Linked DNA regions of Homo sapiens: region 1 is linked to region 2. Evidence: promoter capture Hi-C in human tissues and cell types (Jung and others, 2019). All regions are on one chromosome and are shown on one strand. The core of a region is centred on a gene start or on the middle of the fragment in contact, and the rest is flanking DNA. Distances in the headings are between cores, read along the strand shown. Region 1 overlaps TRAPPC10 (trafficking protein particle complex subunit 10). Region 2 holds the start of WDR4 (WDR4 tRNA N7-guanosine methyltransferase non-catalytic subunit).

Region 1 (3,420 bases), core at 204-2,703, 1.2 Mb after region 2:
GTGGTCTCTGATGCTGTTTTGTAAACAAGAAAACGGAGTCTGGAAGTGATTAGGTCTGAAGAGTATAAGCCATTGATGGGGACGGTGTTTCATAATATAGGAACTTATTTTTGTGTGCTTGGTTTAAAATAATTTTAAGAGATTTAAACTTTAATTAATGAAGAGAAATATATTTTAGTTAATTTCAAAAGGAGAAGTTCTTATTTCAGAGCTAAGCTCATTAGTACCTAGCCCAAGTCACAAACTCAGAAACTTAAGAATTTTTATCAAATGATTTTTCTTCACCTAATGAAGCAAATGAGGAAAAGAAACATTTTCCACCTCGAAATGACCCTCTGGGCTGCCTGTAATCACCTGGATTTAGAGACTCTGCCTGGGTTGCTCAGCCCTAACTGCAGGTTGGGGACGGGGCTGTGAGGGAACCATTCACTCCTAGAGCCGGGCTCTCTGTTCATGTGTACCTAGGGATTTCACCTGATGTTGAGATTTTTGTCTTACTAGCCGGGAGGGGGGAAAATTGAAGTATTCAAGTCCAAATGATTCAGACATGATGTCTTCTGAGTGAGACGACCCCAGGAGGCTGATTGGAGAGGGCTGTTAGTTTTGTTATTACCTTGTGGCTGGAAGGAGAAATGTGTAAGTAATAGAGGGTGTGGGCTCTGGAGTTCCCTTGTAGCGTCGGGGTTCACAGGAGCCATACGGGGTCTGTTGGCTCCTCTAGGTGCTCGTCTGCAGGGCCGGGAAGTCACAGGTATTTTCAAGGCTTTGTATCGTGTGAGGAGCCTCTTATCCGTGGTGTATTTTCCGAGCCCTTTGCTTTGCTGAATGAAGTTGTTGTCCCCTTGGCCTTTCCTTGAGTGGAAGCTGCCCCATTGCTTTTAGTCATAGCTATTGCACCTCTTTGCACGGTTGAGTTCTGCATCTCCAGTGAGAGGAGGTGGCCAAAGGTGAATGCTGGATTTGAGGCAAGGACGTGTCACCCACTGATGACTTTCTCACAGTCTGTCAGTCTCTTTCCTTCTAAGAACCCGCTTCCTGTTTCGTCATCTTCTGATGCACACAGCTGGCTGCGCCTCCTTACATGCGCTGTGCCTGTCGGCTTCCCAGGCCAGAGAGGACAGCCTCCCTTGTCGCTTGTGTTGAAGCCCACACAATCCTCTTTGCACACTTTGCACCTGTGTTTGATCAACACTGAGATTCACACTGTTTACTTAGAGGGCTTCGCTGGTAACTTCACGTCAGAAGTGTTTCTCTTTCTCTCCTTTTTTCTAAATTTTTAAATTTTTTGGTAGAGATGAGTGTCTCACTGTGTCGCCCAGGCTGGTCTGGAACTTCCGGGCTCAAGTGATCTTCCCTGCTCCCCTCCCAAAGTGCTGGGATTACAGGTCTGAGCTGCCCGTGGCTGTGTTTTTCTCTCTTGTGCAGTAGTTTTTACTCCAGTCTAGTTGTTAGGATTTTTTGGTGAGAGTCAGGTTTTAGGGCTACAGTTGAGCAGAGGCCAGGGGGTAGGTGTGCCACTGTCAGTTGCAGATCCCACTGTCCCACTTTCGAGTGGGTGGCTTATAAAACATGTCCTGCTAACATCCTGGTTGCTTTACCAGTTGATTTGAAGTACCTCATTTATTTAAAGAGAATAGGAGGCAACGAAGTGGCCAGCTGTGATGGAAACTAGCCCTGCTCTGTAGTAGGGCTTGATCCACACTCCAGGGGCGACGGGGGCTGAGGAGGGGAGCAAGACGGCCGGATAGAGGCCTCTGCCCTGTGGGTGCTGCTTACTAGCCTTGCGCACTCCCTTAATGGAAAATGTGTTAAGAATGGAGATTGTGCCTACCTTGCACAGCTGGCTGCTGGGGTGAGCGGTAACACCCGTGAAGTGAGGCCAGTTCTGCGTGAGTTCAGGATCCTCCTTGACAGAGTATTTCCTTTTTTTTTCTGTAACAATTTCTAATTTTCCCTCCATTTACAAAAGTTGAATGTTTTCTTTATGTAAATTTGGAAAATAACAGACAAATATACGAAGAAAATGTCGTTGCTTTTGCTAGCAGGAAGAGGTTCCCTTTTTTTGTCCATGGCCTTCTTATGTATAGATGAACTGCAGTTATTTCCTTGCTCCTATTTGGACATTTGAATTCTTCAAAATTCTTTGCAATTGCAGCAGTTTGTATCCTTATACATACATCTTTGTGTGTAAATTCATACAAGTAGAATTGGAAGGTCGAAGATAGACATGTTTTTAAAGCTATATGTTGTTAATTTGTCCTCCAGAAAGGTCTTCCCATTTTCAGTCATGCTAGTGATGCCTGTTTTCCTGCACCTTTGGTAAGAAAAAAGTATGATACTTATATATTTTGTCGCCAAATTAGAAGAACGGGGAAGATACTTTCTTGAAGGCCATAATGTGTTTGTTACAATGATTGCCCAAGTGATTTTTTGGGGGGGTTTGGAATGTGTTTCATTCAGCGTTTGACCTTTTATCACCTTAGCTGCTGGTTATGTAACAGACCGTGTGGGCCTAGCAGGGTCAGGACTCCTCCAGACCCCAGGGGAGTCACCAGCCTAGCCTGTGGCACGGAGGAACCGTGCATGGGACGCCGTCGGAGTTAGCTGGCCGGTTTGTGAACAGAGGCTGTGTGTGGCCAACCTGCAGGTTGAACCAGAGGAAGAAGAAGGTTTACAGTCAAAGCTGGCCAGCTGGGATCGGTATTCTGAGGTGCAGGCCTGGCAGAGGACAAAGGCAGAGATGTAGTGTGGGAATGTAGATTGTGTTTGCTGAGGGCTTACAGTGTACCCGACACCCTGCTGGGTGGGTGCTCTCATGTGTAGGTGGAGGATCTTGTGCACCCATGAGCCATGAGGGGGAGGAGCTGGATTGAAGGAGGAGGGGTGGTTGTGAGAGCTGTTGCTGAAGAAGAACTGATGGCTCACTGGACAAAAGGAAAGAGAGGACTGTCAAGAATCATTCAAGAAACGTTTCCTTGCCTGCCAGGCACTGTGGGAGACAGGGATGGGGGTGCACATAAATGAAGAGGAAAGGGCCCCACCTACCGGCATGAGGTGCCACGGGTCATCAGCACAGTGTCCAAGTAGTGACGAAGTGTTGTCTGCACACAGGGGACTGTAAGGGAGGGAAAGGCAGCTTTGCCGGATGCCTCAGGTCAGCTTGGTAAACATTTGCAGGTGCCTGATAGGTGCTAGGGAAGCTTTCTAGAGGAGGCCCTATGTGAACTCCATTAAAAAGATTCATTCAGGCTGGGCACAGTGGCTCAAGCCTGTAATCCTGGCACTTTGGGAGGTCGAGGTGGGCGGATCATGAGGTCAGGAGTTCCAGACCAGCCTGGCCAATATGGTGAAACCCTGTCTCTACTAAAAATACAAAAATTAGCTGGGCGTGATGGCAGGCGCCTGTAATCCCAGCTACTC
Region 2 (3,527 bases), core at 865-3,364:
GAGCCACTGCGCCCAGCCTAACAATGATTTTTAAAAGAGCACTTTGTTAAAAAAAAAAAAAAAAAGTTGATTTTTTTTCTCTGTGGAACAAAAAATATTTGCACACTCATTAAATTAAAAGTTGTATACTTGACAAGAAAACTGTCTAGATACAATATTTCAGGGAACAGTTAACAAACTTTATTTGCTTAATCTCTTATTGGAGTACGTCATACTGCATAGTTCTGTGGGAAAAAAAAGTTCAGTAAAACAAATGAGGGATAAATACTCAACAGGAATTAATATGCTATTCTTTTAGGCACCACAAAATCTATGCGACATGGTTATAAGAAATTACGGGCCGGGCGCGGTGGTTCACGCCTGTAATCCCAGCACTTTGGGAGGCCGAGATGGGCGGATCACGAGGTCAGGAGATCGAGACCAGCCTGGCTAACACAGTGAAACCCCCATCTCCACTAAAAATATAAAAAATTAGCCAGGCATGGTGGCAGGCGCCTGCAGTCCCAACTACTCGGGAGGCTGAGGCAGGAGAATGGCGTGAACCCGGGAGGCGGAGCTTGCAGTGAGCCAAGATCGCGCCACTGCACTCCAGCCTGGGCGACAAAGCGAGACTCCTCAAAAAAAAAAAAAAAGAAAAAAAAGAAATTATGTTCTGATACTGTTGAGCGTTCAGTGGGATTCTGTATACAAATTTCAAAGAGCCATTACTATTTAGAAACATATCTCACCTACCTGAAAGTGTTCCCATGACCCCAGGCACTTACCAACATAAGAATCACCCATTTTCCATACTGAACCTAAACTTCGGTTTATCCCATCCTCACCCCCTGGCACGTATCTTGTACATATTTATAGCCTTTAAAGCGAGTGCACCAAAAAACTTTCCATATGGAACCGTGGACTTGTCTTCCAAGTCAGAAACTCCACCAGCCACTAGAATTTCCTCAAAATGCAAAGACTGAAGGTAAGCAAATCATGTCTAATATATCCACAGCTCACTCTGGCAGATATTAGACCGTGAGTCTCTAAAACAAAATCATCTGGGATATGTGACGGGTTTCTGAGTACAATTTTTGTGAGACCTAACTTAACATCGAATTGGCTTTCTAAAACCAAACGAACAAAAAATATACAGTATATCTGACAGACACGTCGTCCGTTTCAAATATGAAATCACAAATAACCTGGGAAAGGAAACGAGGGGCTGAAACTGACAGCACTACTAATTGCTCCGAGAGTCCTGAGTTAGGACTGTTCCATCAACAAACATTTACTAAGTTAAAAATCCCCTGCGTCGTCCTAGCACTGGCGATACACTAAGGAAGGAGAATAAAATTACGGAAAGCAAAACCCGAGCCGTGCGAAGGGCCACTAGGGAGGTGCGCACTGCGAGCTCCACGTGCACCCTTGGGTTGGGTAAGTGTCGGAGATGACTTGGAGCCCTAAGGAGCAATTAAGGCCAGGTGAGTGGATGCAGGCCGGGAAGAGGGAACAGACAACCCTGCAAAAAGAGGGAGCGCGCTTGGAGGTCAGTGAGCTCGCAGTGAGTAAGCCCCTCCCTTCTCACCAGGGAGACCCGAGACCCGCTTCTTCCCAGTTCTGCAGAGCGTGTTCGGCCGGGCCTTGCTGACTGGTCAGCGTCGCCCCACGTGCTCTACCTACCCGGTCCCCGCCGGCGCCGCGGAGACCGGAAGCGACCCGGCGGCGCTAACCGGGCAAGAACACCGCAGACCAGCCATCTAGTGCAAGGAGCGCGCCGGAGCCGGGGAGCGGACGCCGAGAGCGGACGGCGAAAGCGGACCCTCCAGGCGCAGAGACGCGGCCAGGCCGAGACTGCGGCGGAGGACTCGTGGGCTGGAGCGGAGTTCCCCGGGGTCACCCCAGAGTGGGTGCGACCAGGCGGTGCGGGAGAAGCGGGGTCGCCAGGACCCGACGCGCGCCCGCAGCCTGGTCTCCCTGTTCCAAGACCAAGGCCCCCTCACCTGCTTGCTATGGAGGTGGCCAGGAATCGGCTGCCGCCCCGCACCACCAACGTCTGCCCGCACAACGCCAGTCCCACAGAGCCCGCCATGTACCCGCCCGCCTCACCGCCATACACATGTGCCAGCCCAGAGCCTCTTCCTGTCCGCACCGGTCGGTGACGCCAGGCGCAGACGCCGAGAGATGACGTATACCCCACGTACCGCGCATGCTCAAGGACGAGCCTGCCTTGAGCATGCGTGAAAGGTGCTGTGACCGCCCTCCGGGTTGTGGCTGGTGGCCTTCGGTGTTTCGGGTTTGGCAGTTCACTCACCAAGGTGATCTGATGGAGTGCACTTCGCACGATTCCAAGTACTTGCCTAATGTTCATCCTTTCCTCTAGACGGGGTAGGGCTGGTTCTGGATCTTTTTCCGCGGTAGCTGGAGAGACGTAGGACCTGATGATGGCTACTAGATGCCTGGTAAATGATCCTTCAAGAAGTGAATGAACCGGGGGCCGTGGCTCACATGAAGTCAGCAGTTCGAGAGCAGCCTGACCAATATGGTGAAACCCCGTTTCTACTAAAAGTACAAAAATTTGTTGGGCGTGGTGGCGTGCGACTGTAGCCCCAACTACTTGGGAGGCTGAGACAGAAGAATTGCCTGAACCCGGGAGGCGGAGGTTGCAGTGAGTCGAGATCGCCCCCGCTGCACTCCAGCCAGGGCGACAGAGCGAGACTCTCTCTCAAAAAAAAAAAAAATGTCCAAGATGTGGTCATGGGTGAGGGTGTCTCGGGTGGCGTCAAGTCTGAGGTCGCTAGAAGTAAGCCTACTGAATCTTTGCACTTAGACAAGCCACAGATGCCTTAAAATCTCCGAACTGTAGTGATATTTTCAACCCAAACTATGGTTAGTTTCCAGTGTTCATCCCAAGATCCCCAAAAGCCTCTTACAATCCCAGCATCAGGCACAAAATCTAGGATCTCACGGTCTGTTTTAGATTGGCTTGTCCGGTGCAGCTCCTCTTGATCCAGAGACTTACAAACTAAAAAGATTAATTTTCTCTCCCGTGCACGCAATATATGATGGTGAGCCGGGACCAGATAACCACAATAAATACTTGCATGTGAAAATGAGAAGAGGAGGAGACACAGTAATCACTGGTCCAAAGCAATTCTGAAATCCTACTGGAAGATGTTTTCAGGCCCTACAAGAATAAGAAGTCTTAACCAGGCCCGAGTTCTGCTTCCTGGGAGTATCTCCCCAGGCTGTATCTCAGCACAGCTCTTGCCTCTGCCCTCTTGGGTGTCCCTCCTTTTCCAGCACCTTCTTGGCCATGTTGAAGAATGTGCCCTTTGAGAAACTTTCTCAACCTCCTTCCTGTCATTAGCAAATTGTGAGCCCACAGACCTTTTTTCACTCTAAACTGTTCTGTCCACATTTTGGCAGCTGGTGGTGCTTTGTTCACTACAAGTCCCTTAAAAGCTTTATGGGCTTCTCAAGAATCTGATTCAGGTGCTCTCCATGCCCAAGAAGCCACTCCCACTAGTCTTTTTTTTTTTTTTAGA

The links. Contacts are between HindIII fragments. The study calls those that stand out against the background at their distance.
Region 1: a contact is called between a fragment that was not itself captured here and the fragment with the promoter of WDR4 in region 2, in 1 of the 25 tissues and cell types used here (spleen).

The regions. Positions count from the first base shown.
Region 1 is chr21:44,064,593-44,068,012 of GRCh38, forward strand. The region is part of intron 7 of TRAPPC10 (trafficking protein particle complex subunit 10); the gene reads left to right. Among named protein-coding and RNA genes, the nearest start is that of PWP2, 41 kb to the right of the region's middle. RefSeq lists enhancers at 1,059-1,108, 2,663-3,205. The HindIII fragment of the contact is 3,943 bases long and covers 1-3,420 here.
Region 2 is chr21:42,877,425-42,880,951 of GRCh38, forward strand. It overlaps WDR4 (WDR4 tRNA N7-guanosine methyltransferase non-catalytic subunit), which reads right to left and starts at 2,115. Exons shown (of 11, transcript NM_018669.6): 1 at 1,983-2,115. The coding sequence starts at 2,071. LOC105372817 (a long non-coding RNA gene) reads left to right here and starts at 2,288. Exons shown (of 4, transcript XR_937765.3): 1 at 2,288-2,331. RefSeq lists enhancers at 177-1,140, 1,141-2,105, 1,758-1,807, 1,838-1,947, 2,018-2,367. The HindIII fragment of the contact is 11,595 bases long and covers 1-3,527 here.